4 separate regions of the Homo sapiens genome follow, and all the other regions are linked to region 3. Evidence: promoter capture Hi-C in 16 types of primary human blood cells and fetal thymus (Javierre and others, 2016). All regions are on one chromosome and are shown on one strand. The core of a region is centred on a gene start or on the middle of the fragment in contact, and the rest is flanking DNA. Distances in the headings are between cores, read along the strand shown. Region 1 has its middle 180 kb from the start of CLINT1. Region 2 has its middle 94 kb from the start of CLINT1. Region 3 holds the start of EBF1 (EBF transcription factor 1). Region 4 has its middle 240 kb from the start of CLINT1.

What was found. Contacts are between HindIII fragments. The CHiCAGO score rates a contact against its expected background, and 5 or more counts as called.
Region 1: a contact is called between a fragment that was not itself captured here and the fragment with the promoter of EBF1 in region 3, in 1 of 17 cell types (M1 macrophages). The highest score is 5.0, in M1 macrophages.
Region 2: a contact is called between a fragment that was not itself captured here and the fragment with the promoter of EBF1 in region 3, in 1 of 17 cell types (fetal thymus). The highest score is 6.1, in fetal thymus.
Region 4: a fragment that was not itself captured here is called in contact with the fragment with the promoter of EBF1 in region 3 in 1 of 17 cell types (M0 macrophages); the score reaches 6.2 in M0 macrophages.

The regions. Positions count from the first base shown.
Region 1 is chr5:158,038,153-158,041,110 of GRCh38, reverse strand. No RefSeq gene overlaps it. Among named protein-coding and RNA genes, the nearest start is that of CLINT1, 180 kb to the right of the region's middle. The HindIII fragment of the contact is 992 bases long and covers 1,165-2,156 here.
Region 2 is chr5:157,951,688-157,954,742 of GRCh38, reverse strand. No RefSeq gene overlaps it. Among named protein-coding and RNA genes, the nearest start is that of CLINT1, 94 kb to the right of the region's middle. The HindIII fragment of the contact is 792 bases long and covers 1,335-2,126 here.
Region 3 is chr5:159,098,468-159,101,236 of GRCh38, reverse strand. EBF1 (EBF transcription factor 1) reads left to right here and starts at 1,321. Exons shown (of 16, transcript NM_024007.5): 1 at 1,321-1,892. The coding sequence starts at 1,759. LINC02202 (long intergenic non-protein coding RNA 2202) reads right to left here and starts at 754. Exons shown (of 3, transcript NR_109890.1): 1 at 399-754. RefSeq lists enhancers at 1-412, 413-1,041 and a silencer at 1,859-2,148. The HindIII fragment of the contact is 12,266 bases long and covers 1-2,769 here.
Region 4 is chr5:158,094,152-158,097,343 of GRCh38, reverse strand. No RefSeq gene overlaps it. Among named protein-coding and RNA genes, the nearest start is that of CLINT1, 240 kb to the right of the region's middle. The HindIII fragment of the contact is 1,099 bases long and covers 1,166-2,264 here.

The DNA of each region.
Region 1 (2,958 bases), core at 411-2,910, 1.1 Mb after region 3:
GCACAAGAATCACTTGAACCTGGGAGGCAAAGGTTGCAGTGGGCCGAGGTTGTGCCACTGCACTCCAGCCTGGATGACAGAGCAGGACTCTGTCTCAAAAAATAAATAAATAAAAATAAAAATCAGAGCCTTGGATTCCCTTCCATGATATCAAATACTTGTCCATCACACTCCTGTTATATAGCCTTACATTCCCCGACAGCACTGCAACCTCCTAGAGTTTCAATATCATATCTCAGCTTCTTTGTTGTCCCAAAAATGCTTTGTCCAGTGCTTTGCACAAAACAGGTATTCAAGAAATGTATTGTGAATTAACTAATGGCAGCATGGTGGTAATAGGATAGGTGTTTACTATCAGGGGATAGTAAGAACTAAGGGTCCAGGGACACTGGATCCTAAAAGCTTCAGGTAAGCGACCGGGTACAGTGGCTCACGCCTATAATCCCAGCACTTTGGGAGGCCAAGATGGGCGGATCACAAGGTCAGGGGATTGAGACCATCTGGTCAACATGGTGAAACCCCGTCTCTACTAAAATTACAAAAATTAGCTGGGCATGGTAGTGCACACCTGTAGTCCCAGCTACTCAGGAGGCTGAGGTAGGAGAATCACTTGAACACAGCAGGCGGAGGTTGCAGTGAGCCGAGATCGCACCACTGCACTCCAGCCTGGTGACAGAGCAAGGCAAGACTCATGGGATTAGGGAGTTAAAACAAGCATCTAGGAAATCAGTTGAATCAATGGCCCTGACAGCCAAGATAGCAAAGCAGTGCTGAGACTGCTTTTGACTTTCTTTTAAGCAGGGCAGTCCCAGGAGCAAGTGTGCTTTGTGGTTACCCAGAGTGGCCCCCTGCATACACCAGTTCCAGATGGTTTGACTGAAAACAATTTTGCCACAGAAACTGAATAATTCAGGCCAACAATAGAGGACTCGTTGAAACAACCCAGTCCCACAATAGAATGCCTTTTGAAAGTTTTTATTGTTTTTCCCCAATTTCAAAAACAATGCATTCTCATTACAGAAACATCTTAGATGACTAATAAATGTATCAAACTTATGTTCAAAACTGAGCTCCTGATCTTGCCTCCTGATCTTTATCTCACTATAGACTTCTCCATTTCTATTAACTTAGTTCTAAGCTTCTATTTGTTTAGGCCGAGAAGCTTGGATTCCTTTCTGACTACTCTATTTATCTCATAAGTCCATGTTCTGTATATGTAAGCAAGTCCTGTAGACTATAACTTCAAAATGTATCAATACTGTAACCACTAACCACTGTTCCCCACTTCCACTGCTATCACCTTGATCCAAGCCCCCATCACCTCTCACCCATAGTCTCCTGCTTCCACCATTGTCCCTGCTACAGGTTATTCCCAAAGGGGCAGTCAAAGTGATACACATAAAACATAACATAGATTATGTCACTTCTCTGCTCAGCACCCCCAGTGGCTTTCTAGCTGGCTGAGTGAAAGTCTAAGTCTTCACAATGGCCTATAAGACTACACATGACTTGGCTCTCTCGCTACCTCTCTAACTCACCTTCTCCTACTCTTCCTCATGGCTGATTCTGCACCAGTCCTCTGACCTCCTTGTCTCACTACACACACACACAAACACACACACACACACACACACACACAAAACCAGGCATGCTCCTCTAGCAAGCCTTTTGTACTTGATACTCTTTCTGCTGGCTCGCTTTTCCCCCCAGATATCCACCTGGCTCAGGCTCTCATTTCCTTTAGATCTTCACTCAAAAGTAACCTCGACAGTCAGACCTCCCTGGTGACCCTATTTAAAATTGGAACCCCTCCCCAACATGCTGTAGCCCCCTTCCCTGCTTCATTTATCTCCATAGTGCTTGTCACTGTTTGGCCTGTGATATATCTTACTTAATTCTTTTGTCTGCTTCCTACTCCTACAAGTATGTACCTTCAATCAGGGCAAATTTTTCTTTTTTCTTCATTGTTATACCCTCAACATAAAGAATATGGCTGACATTTAATAAGAGCTTATTAAAATTTTGTCAAATTGATTAAAAAATATATAAATAAGCAAAATAATTCCACCCACCCAAGGCAAACACTATTCAGACCTTGGTGTATAATTGTCCAAATAATTTTTCTGTACACTATAATTATTCTACAAATATAAGCTTATATAATACTTACATTAGAAACCTGTGTGTTTATCATAACTTGATATTTTGGATATTTCAATTGAGTCCTATTATTCTAATTTTTCACTTCAACAAACACCAAAGAATAGGAATAATGGACTAAAAATACATTTGAAATATGATAGTAAATAGTGGGGAAACAATTGAAAAGTTCAATTTTTTTTTTCCAAGATAGCATCTCACTGTCACCCAGGCTGGAGTGCAGTAAAGTAGTGTAATCATGGCTGTCAGCAACCTCAAACTCCTGGCTCAATCCTCCCAAGCAGCTGAGATCGTAAGCCCACACCACCACCACCTGGCTAATTTTTTAATTTTTTTGGAGGGACACTGTATTAGTCCATTTTCAAACCGATATGAAGATACTACCTGAGACTAGGCAATTTATAAACAAGAGGTTTAATTGACTAGGTTCTGCATGGCTGGGGAGGCCTCAGGAAACTTATAGTCATGGTGGAAGGCAAAGGAAAAGCAAGAACCTTCTTGACAAAGTGGCAGGAGAGAGAGGGAGTGAATGGGGAAGTACCACTTTTAAACCATCAGGTCTCATGAGAATTCACTCACTATCAGGAGAACAGCATGGGAGAAACCACCCCAATGATCCAATCATCTCCCACCAGGTCCCTCCCTAGACACATGGGGATTACAATTCAAGATGAGATTTGAGTGCGGACACAGAGACCCTTTGTTCTGGTGTGCTCTCATGGTGACTGGCCAAGGAGAAGCACCCCTCTGCACAGAAGTAAAATTGCTTCGCTGAAAATCCTTTGTTTGAGTGCTCAG
Region 2 (3,055 bases), core at 481-2,980, 1.1 Mb after region 3:
GTGCAGTGGCATGATCTTGGCTCACTGCAACCTCCGCCTCCCGAGTTCAAACAATTCTCCTGTCTCAGCCTCCCGAGTAGCTGGGACTACAGGTGCCCGCCACCATGGCTGGCTAATTTTTGTATTTTTAGTAGAGATGGGGTTTCACCATGTTGGCCAAGCTGGTCTCGAACTCCTGACCTCAGGTGATTCCACCTGTCTCGGTCTCCCAAAGTGCTGGGATTACAGGCGTGAGCCACCACGCCCAGCCAACAATATGGTTTTTATACCTATTGTTTTAGCTGGCAAAATTTGAAGAATTGAAGAGAAGTATTAAATCTCCCACTGACAAGTCTCCTAGACAGCTTGTGTCTGTTCACTTGCTGATTACAGCATTTAAAAATCCCCAAGCCAAGTGGTCCTAGTGGGATGTGCAAGGAAAAATTTCACTTCCTCTGATTGACACCAGGCCAGGGTCAAAGTGTGAATTAACTGAAGCCTTATAGTATGATTGGAAAATTTAAAACCTTGGTCCCCACATCAGCCCTACCACCATCTCCATGGGTAATCAATCCTAAACCTTATATTATTTTCCTCTGCAAAATGAGGGTTTTCACTAGATAATCTCTAGGGTTGCTTTAAGCTCTCACAATTCATATACATACATACATATATATGTATGTATGTATATGTATATATATATGATGCAGTCTCGCTCTGTCTCCCAGGCTGGAGTGCAGTGGCACGATCTCGGCTCACTGCAACCTCCACCTACCAGGTTCAAGTGATTCTCCTACCTCAACCTCCCGAGTAGCTGGGATTACAGGCGCCTACGACCACACGCAGCTGGTGATCCACCCGTCTCGGCCTCCCAAAGTGCTGGGATTACAGGCGTGAGCCACTGTGCCCGGCCCATAATTCGTATTTCTAAATTTCCCTCTGGTCCCTTTTTATTCCCCACTACTTCAAGTCCCTCTCTCACTTGCTTACTACATTCCTGGAGAAAATACTGTCTGGAGGACTTCTATAAATGATAATACCTGTAAACATTTTCTGATTTCAAATACACACACACACACACAAGTCAAGAGCATACATAAGGGTGCTGTTATCTTCAATTAGCAGATGCAGAAACTGAGACTCAAAGAGATTAAACCGCTTGTCCAAGATCGAAGAGCGAGAAGAAGGTTTTGTCTGGATTTGAACCCAGGACCATCTGACTGAAGCTCACATTCTCCGCACTACACCCCACAGTCTCCTGTGGCCCTAGACCTCATCCATGGGCTCCACAGCAAATGACTCTTTTACTCAGCTTGAAACCCCTAGGCAGTGAGCCTTTGTTCCCAACCAAAGCTTAGTTGCCCTATTTCTTTTTTTCTCAAGAGCTTACTGTTTTGCATACGTTTTCATTATAACTGACAAAGGACTTGGTATCTATTCCAATCCATTTATACAAAAAAAGGAAGAAACCAAAGCCCAAAGAAAGTGGTTCGCTCAATCTCATAGACTATTTACCAGTAAGGCCTAAATACAGCCCAGGCTCAAAACCCACTACTTTTTTTTTTTTTTTTTTTTTTTTTTTGAGATGGAGTTTCACTCTTATTGCCCAGGTTGGAGTGCAATGGTGCAATCTTGGCTCACCGCAACCTCCGCTTCCCAGGTTCAAGCAATTCTCCTGCCTCAGACTCCCAAGTAGCTGGGATTACAGGTATGTGCCACCACACCCAGCTAATTTTGTATTTTTCGTAGAGATGGGGTTTCTCCATGTTGGTCAGGCTGGTCTCGAACTCCCGACCTCAGGTGATCTGCCCGTCTCGGCCTCCCAAAGTGCTGGGATTACAGGCATAAGCCACCACACCCAGCCCAAAACCCACCACTTTTTAAGTTGTCACATTAAAGTCACCAGCCACTAAAATGTCACTGAATTATATCGGAATAATGTATTAACTATTGTGGGTACGTTTTTAAATAAACAAATATGTTTTCTTCTACATAAAAGACATACAAGTTTAGTTTGGACAATTTGGAAACAAGCAAAGTAGAACAAAAAAGAAATTCAAGAGAAGTGAACCATTAATCCTATTTCATTTACTTCCAGTCCTGTCTTTCTTTTCCTTGGCATCATTTGTTTTATTTTTTATAAAGCTTTTTGTTCTGATTATAAAAATAATACATGATTCACAATGAGGTGCCACTACATACCCATGAGAAAGCTACATTTTTTTTAAAAAGACTGACACCATCAGGGATTAGTGTGGATGTGGAGCAACTGGAATTTGCTTACCTCATTGGTGACAGTATAAAAGGGTACAACCACTTCGGAAAAGGTTTGGCAGTCTCTCACAAAACTTAACATACCCCTATGCTAGAAATTCCAGAAATGCCACTGCTAGATATTTATCCAAGAGAAATAAAAACATACATCCACAAAAAGACATGTATAAGACTATTGATAATTAACAGCTTTGTTATAAAGCCAAAAACTGGAAATAGCTCAGGTGTCCATCAATAGGAGAAAGGGAATACAAACAGTGGTACATTCTTACCACCTTCGGCAATAGAAAGGACCAAATAATTTGTACACACAACAGCATGGGCAAATCTCAGAAACATTACGTTGAGTAAAAGAAGCCTTACAGAAAAACTACACACTGAAGTTTACATGAAGTTCTATAATAGGAAAAACTAATCTATGCTGAAAACAATTAGGACATAGCTACTCTTGGCACACTGCCTATGGGTTAGCCCCACGCTGAGAGGAGAGGAGAGGAGAAGAGAAGGGAGGGGAGGGGAGGGGAGGGGAGAGGAGAGGAGGGGAGGGGAGGGAAAGGGAAGGGGAAGTGAAGAAAAGGAGCTTGGATTGCACAGGTGAATGCATTTGTCAGAACCCATGAAATGGCCCATAAAATTTGTGTGTTTCATCATAAGTAAATCTTACCTCAAAAGAAAGAAAGTAAACCAATATTGAATTTTAACAACGTGCATGATGAAGTATTTAGGGAAAACTACATGATGTCTACAACCTACTCTGAAATACATCAAAAAATAAGATGGAGAAAGAGAGGAATGGATAGAC
Region 3 (2,769 bases), core at 72-2,571:
AACAAACGAACCAACTACTTGGGGTGGGGAATGAGGGGTTGGCATTTAATTTGAGAAAATTTAAAAACGCATCCTGACACAGCCCCAGTGAGAGCATTCATTCCACCATTCACATATCTCGAGGACTGCCCGAGAGAGGTGAGCGTGTGAGTGAGAACAGTGCCCAACCCTGGCAGCCTCTAGGCTAGCGGCCGAGAGAGAAGCGTTTCAGAGGCCGGGGTGGGAGTAGAGCCTGGTACCCCACTTCCTGGGGACCCACAGCGCCTCATTTGCCGGGGCCCAGCGTCCATTCATCCCTCCCAGCGTGGAGGCCGTGCCCCTCCGAGAGTTACCAGCCCCGACCTCGCGCACCCATATTCCATCCCACCGCCCCCGCCTCAAAGCGAAGAGGTGGGCACCTGGGACGCGCGTCCTGCTTTTTCTGCCCGGGCTCTCCCGTCTCCTCCACTTTTGTCCCCGACGTCCCAGAACGGCGGAGCAGGACGCGGCATCAGCCCTGGGAGGGCGCAGCCTGCGAGCCTCCAGCGCGCTCAGGGCGCGGCGAGGATGCTAAAGGACTGCAATGGCCAGGATGCAGATCCCCAGCTCAAATTCCTGAGGAAGACACCCGCCTCCCTTTCCCTCTGTCCCCTCTCCGTCCTCGCTCGGACCCGCTCCTCCCCAGCCCAGACGTCAGTGCTCAGCGCTCCTTCGCTCGCCACTTTGCGAGGAACTTTGGCCGGCTCCCCTGCGCCACCGGGAGCGGGATGTTAATGAGAGAGCGTGGCCTGGCGCCGCCAGCGAGCCGGCTCCCGGGCCGCGATTGGCTGCGGTGGGCGGAAAGATGACGTTATGCAAATGAAGGGGCGGGGCCTCGATGCGCGGGCCCCGCCTCCTCCCTTTGGGGTTAGTGTGCCTGTGTTTAGCTCTGGGGAAAGTCAAACTGGATTCCATAGGGAAAGCCTGCAAATCACTTCTATTTTAGCAAGGAGAAAACAGAATCTCCATCCAGCAGGGTCCACCCCTCTCTCTTTCTCCCTCTCCTCTCTATCTCTCTTTCCCTCCCCCCCTTTCCTCTCTCCCTCTCTCCCCTTCCCCCCACCCTCTCTGGTGTATCTGTCTACGGCAACCAGCGTCCTCCTCATCTACACGCAAAGGAAAGAAACATCTTTGGTTGGGAGAGAAGGAGGAAAAAAAAAGAGAGAGAGAGGAAAAAACTTGCCTGGTTGTGGAAAATGACACTTGAAGTAGCAAAGCCGGCAGCGCGAGTTGAGTCTATTGTTTCTTAAATTGCCATCAGGGTTTTTTTTTTTTTTTTTTTTTTTTTTTTTTTTTTTTCTTCCTGCTTCTTCAAGTGAAGGGTACCTCTACAAAAGGAAACTCCAGCCCCTCCTGTCCTCCACCGGCCTGTGATCATTACAAAAAAAAAAAAAAAAAAGCAAAAAAAAAAAAAAAGCACCCAAACCAAAAATCAACCAACCAAACAACCCCCAACAGCCAAGCATACATCTCTAATTTTATTATTTTGGTCTTTTCGTTGGATTTTCCCTTTCTTCTTTTTTTCGGGTTATCGCTCAGTTTTGAGCAGAGGTTTACATTTTTTAAAAATTTGCTTTCCAGCCCGCCTTGATCTTCTAAGTGCGAGTTCATCGTCTGAGAAAAAAAAAAATCTCTGGTTGGCGTTTTTGTTTCTTTTCTTTTCTTTCTTTTCTTTCCTTTTTTTTTTTTTTTAATTTTTTTCAAGGGGGAGGAGATTTTCCACAAGAAAAGGTTGTTTTCATGTTTGGGATTCAGGAAAGCATCCAACGGAGTGGAAGCAGCATGAAGGAAGAGCCGCTGGGCAGCGGCATGAACGCGGTGCGGACGTGGATGCAGGGCGCCGGGGTGCTGGACGCCAACACGGCGGCGCAGAGGTGGGTACTGCGCGGGGACCGCGGCCGAGGTGAGCCGCGAGCGGGAGAGCCGGGAGGCGGAGGCGGCAGCGGCAGCGGCAGCTGCTGCCGCGGGGCCGGGCGGCGGGGTGAGTCCGCAGCCGCTGCGCTCCGCTCTCCGCCGGGGCTCCGCGCTCTCCAGCCGCTCTGCCTTCGTCGCCTGCGGCCGGAGGACCTGGAGCTGTCTGCGAGGAGCCCACGCTTTGCCAGCACTTTCCCCTGCCTCGTCTGTGACTGTTTTCATTTTGTTTTAACCCAGAAGAGGCGTCTCAACACAGCATGTTGGAGATCTGTGTTTTATGTTTTTATGTGATTGCTCTTTCTTTTCCGGCCGGCTCTCTTTTCTTCTTTCCCTTCGCTCTTCCTTTCCCTCTTTTCTTTTTTCTTTCTTTCTTTCTCTTCCTTCCTTCCTTTTTCTTTCTTTTTTCTTTTTCTTTCTTTTTTTCTTTCCTCCTTTTCTTTTTCCTTTTTCTTTCTCTTTCCTCTTCCTGCCTTTCTTTTTTCTTTCTTCCTTCTTTCCTTTCTCCCCCCTTTATTTTCTTCTCTTCTCCTTCCTCTTCCTTTCTTCCCCTCTTCCCTCCTTCCATTTCTTTCGTTCTTCGTTCTTTCCTGTCTCTCTTCCTGCCTTCTTTTCTTTCTTCTTTCTTTCATTTCCTTCTCTCATTTCTTTCCCCCACCTTCCCTTAATTTCTCCCTCACTCTTTTCCTTCCTCCCTTCCTCTCTCCATTTTCTTTCTCTTCTTTCTTCAGCTTCCCTCCTTTCTCCTCTTTCTCCTTTCCTTACCTCTCTGGCTTTCCTGTTTTTTCGTCCCATTTCTCCCCTGAGTCTTCTCTTATTTCTGCTATCTCGTTCTCCTTC
Region 4 (3,192 bases), core at 466-2,965, 1.0 Mb after region 3:
TATCAGACACAAACAGCCAACATACATAATGGGGAAACACTAAAGCTACCCTTATTAAAATTAGGAGAGATGCCACTGTCACTGCTGTCATTGAGATTTGTTCAGGAAGTCCTAGCCAATGCAGTAAGATAAGAAAAAGAAATGTTGAATAATTATCGGAAAGGAAAAGACAAAGTTATTATTAATCATAGTCATATTATCTTCCTGGAATATTCAAGGAAATCAACTGAAAAAACTATTTGAATTAATAAAGAAGTTCAACATGGATCAAGATACAAGATAAACAAACCAAAATTAATAGTTTTTCTATATGTCAGCAAAAATCAGTTAGAAGATGTCATGTTGAAGAAAGATCCATTTATAATAGAAATGAAAAATGTAAAGTTCTTAAGAATAACTTAACAAAAATGATAAAGAGCTATATATTTTTAAATCTTTAAAATAAACCCAGGCATGATGGAAAAGCATCAAGCAATCTGACCCTTAAGCCCATGATGCTATAAAATGTTTGTGGCTCCAAGTTCCCTTTTGTCATTAATATTTTTCCTATACATTCTCTTCCTGGAAATATAATTTGGATTCATTTACAACCAGCCCTTTCCAGCCCTGGGTCATACAAGGCAATAAAATGTAATTTTAACTCTTTGCCTGCTGGAAACCAAAGGATGTGGTTCTGAAATTGCTGTAGCTCTGACCAAAAACACAGCCACCAGCTATTTACCACCACTCGGACTCATGTGGGAAAATTACAGAGAGATGCCATAAAATGCAAGTTTATGAGTATCTATAAGCACATTATTTATTAGATGAATAATGCTTACAACACATCCAAAGTTGTCATGTCTGGATTATATCAATAAAACTACCTAATTTTACTCAGCACCTTCATTGGTCCTTACAAGAACTCTATAAAGTAAGTAGTTCAACTGAGTATGATTTTTAAATACTAATATGTATGGACCATATACTCTGCCCCATGGCATACACAGGCAGTGTGCTAAATTTTTTACCTACAGTAACTCAATCATGTTTTATGACATTGCTCCATGTCATTAGGATGATGTTTATTTTATGGATAAGGAAACTGAGGCTTGAATAGGTTAAAAGTCTAAGCTCTAACACATCAGAGCTATGATGAACCCAGCTAAATCTGACCCCAGAAGCTTCACTCTTAACACCTACAAACTATGCCTCCTCTGGTGGTGGTGGTGTTATTATAACTACTATTACAGTCATCAGCATCATCCACATCATGATTATAACTATACTTGCAGATAAGGAAACGGAGGTGCAGTGATGCTAATGGATTTGCTTAATGGAACACAGCTATAAAATGGGGGAGCATAGGCTCAAACCCAGATGTATCCAATTCTAAATCCCATCTTCTTTCCACTCCCCCACAGTAATTATTCACACTGTGGGAAAGGAAGTGGTATGTAAACAATACAAATGAGTAGATAATATAAAACTCATTTTCATTCTGCTTTGGAAAACTCAGTATATATTTTCAAACCCCCAGTTTTATCTTCATTGTTATTTTTAAGCTGCTACTAAAATGAGTTTGCATTGCCTTACTGTGTCTTTACCGATACCCCCAACCTGAGAACAAAGAGAGGGAGCCCAAAACCAAATTGACATGCATTGCAAAGACAGCAGGGCATTAAAAATCTACCATAGCTAACCACACATACATAAACCAGGAATTGACTGTATGTGCTTTGATATACTTAGAGAAAAGGGGCTATATAAATTCAAATTTCTCTCCTACCTAGATATTTAATTCAACTTCACAGGGTCCTAGGATACAGGTACAGTATTGTTTTTCAGATACATTCATTCATTTACTCATTCAGCTAGCATTTACTGAGCAGGGTCCACCAATTAGTCAATCCCAAACTAACTCATTTTATCAATGGATAAGAGTAGCTGTCCCTACTTTCCCAGTGACACAGATCCTTCGAGAAAAGAAAGGAATCTTTGTTGAGGTCTTCCCTCAATGTCTCCACCTATATCCTTCCACTCCCAACCCATACACACCAAAATAAGGCAGTCTATCTCCTGGCAATAGGTATTGTTATTGTGCTTATTTTACAGATAGGAAAACTGATGGAGAAAGGATGAAGCTAATGACCTAAGTGGTAGTTCCAGGATTAGAACCCAAGCATCCTGATAATAGAGTCTATGCTTGTCTCTGCTATGCTATATTTATTGAAATGTCATATTTTCTTGAATTTGCTTATCAACATGAGAACAGAAGGGAAGCTTATGTTCTCAAGATTGAGAGAGATTTACCTAACAAAGGAATTCTTACACTGGGAAAATAAATCCTGAGAAGTCAAGGAAGTCATCTAAGGCTACCCAATGAATCAGGAGACGAATGAATCAGAACATGGATTCCCAGACTTACTATCCTGACCCATTCTCGGGGTATCCAGGGGATCTGGAGCCTCCCAAATCCTGGGACCATAGACTAGAAGATAAGAGGAACACAAGCCCAAGCCCGTCATCCATTGTCCGTTTGAGCAAGGCATCCCCTCCGTGAGTCAGGCTGATCGCAGGGACAGCATATATATCCCACACACTATCCCATTATGAGCAACAAGCATGATAAATGAATTAGTATGCAATGTGTAAGAAGGTGCTAAGTGCTAAGGAAAAGAAAACAGGAAGTAAAGGGGATAGGGAGTGCCACAGCCAGCCTAGGGGAGGGGAGAGGGTTATTGTTTTAAACCAAGGTGGACAGGTGGGCCTCATGGAGAAGGTGACATTTAGCAAAGGTTTAAAGGAAATAAAGGAGATCGCCAGGCAGATATCTGAGCAGCAGGCATTCCAGGCAGATAAAAGCAGGCTGCAAAGACCCTAAGGTGGGTGGCTACAGAGAGACTTGTTAGGAGGCTTTGACAGTAAGCCAAGCTAGAGATGATAGTGGCTAGAGTGGTAGCAATGGAGGTGGGGAGACATAATTGCATACTGGATACATTTTGAAGGCCAAGTCCACAGTATTTCCTGACAGATTGGTTGCAAATGTGAGAGAAAAAGAATTTAAGCATGTCTCCAAGATTTGGGCTTACAGACGTGGAAGGATGAGGATGCTATCAGTTGAGAAGGGAAAGGCTGTGGGTTAAGCAGGTTCGGAGTGCAGTAGAAAGGAAGATCTGGAATTCAAGTTGAGCTTGAGATATCTATGAGGTA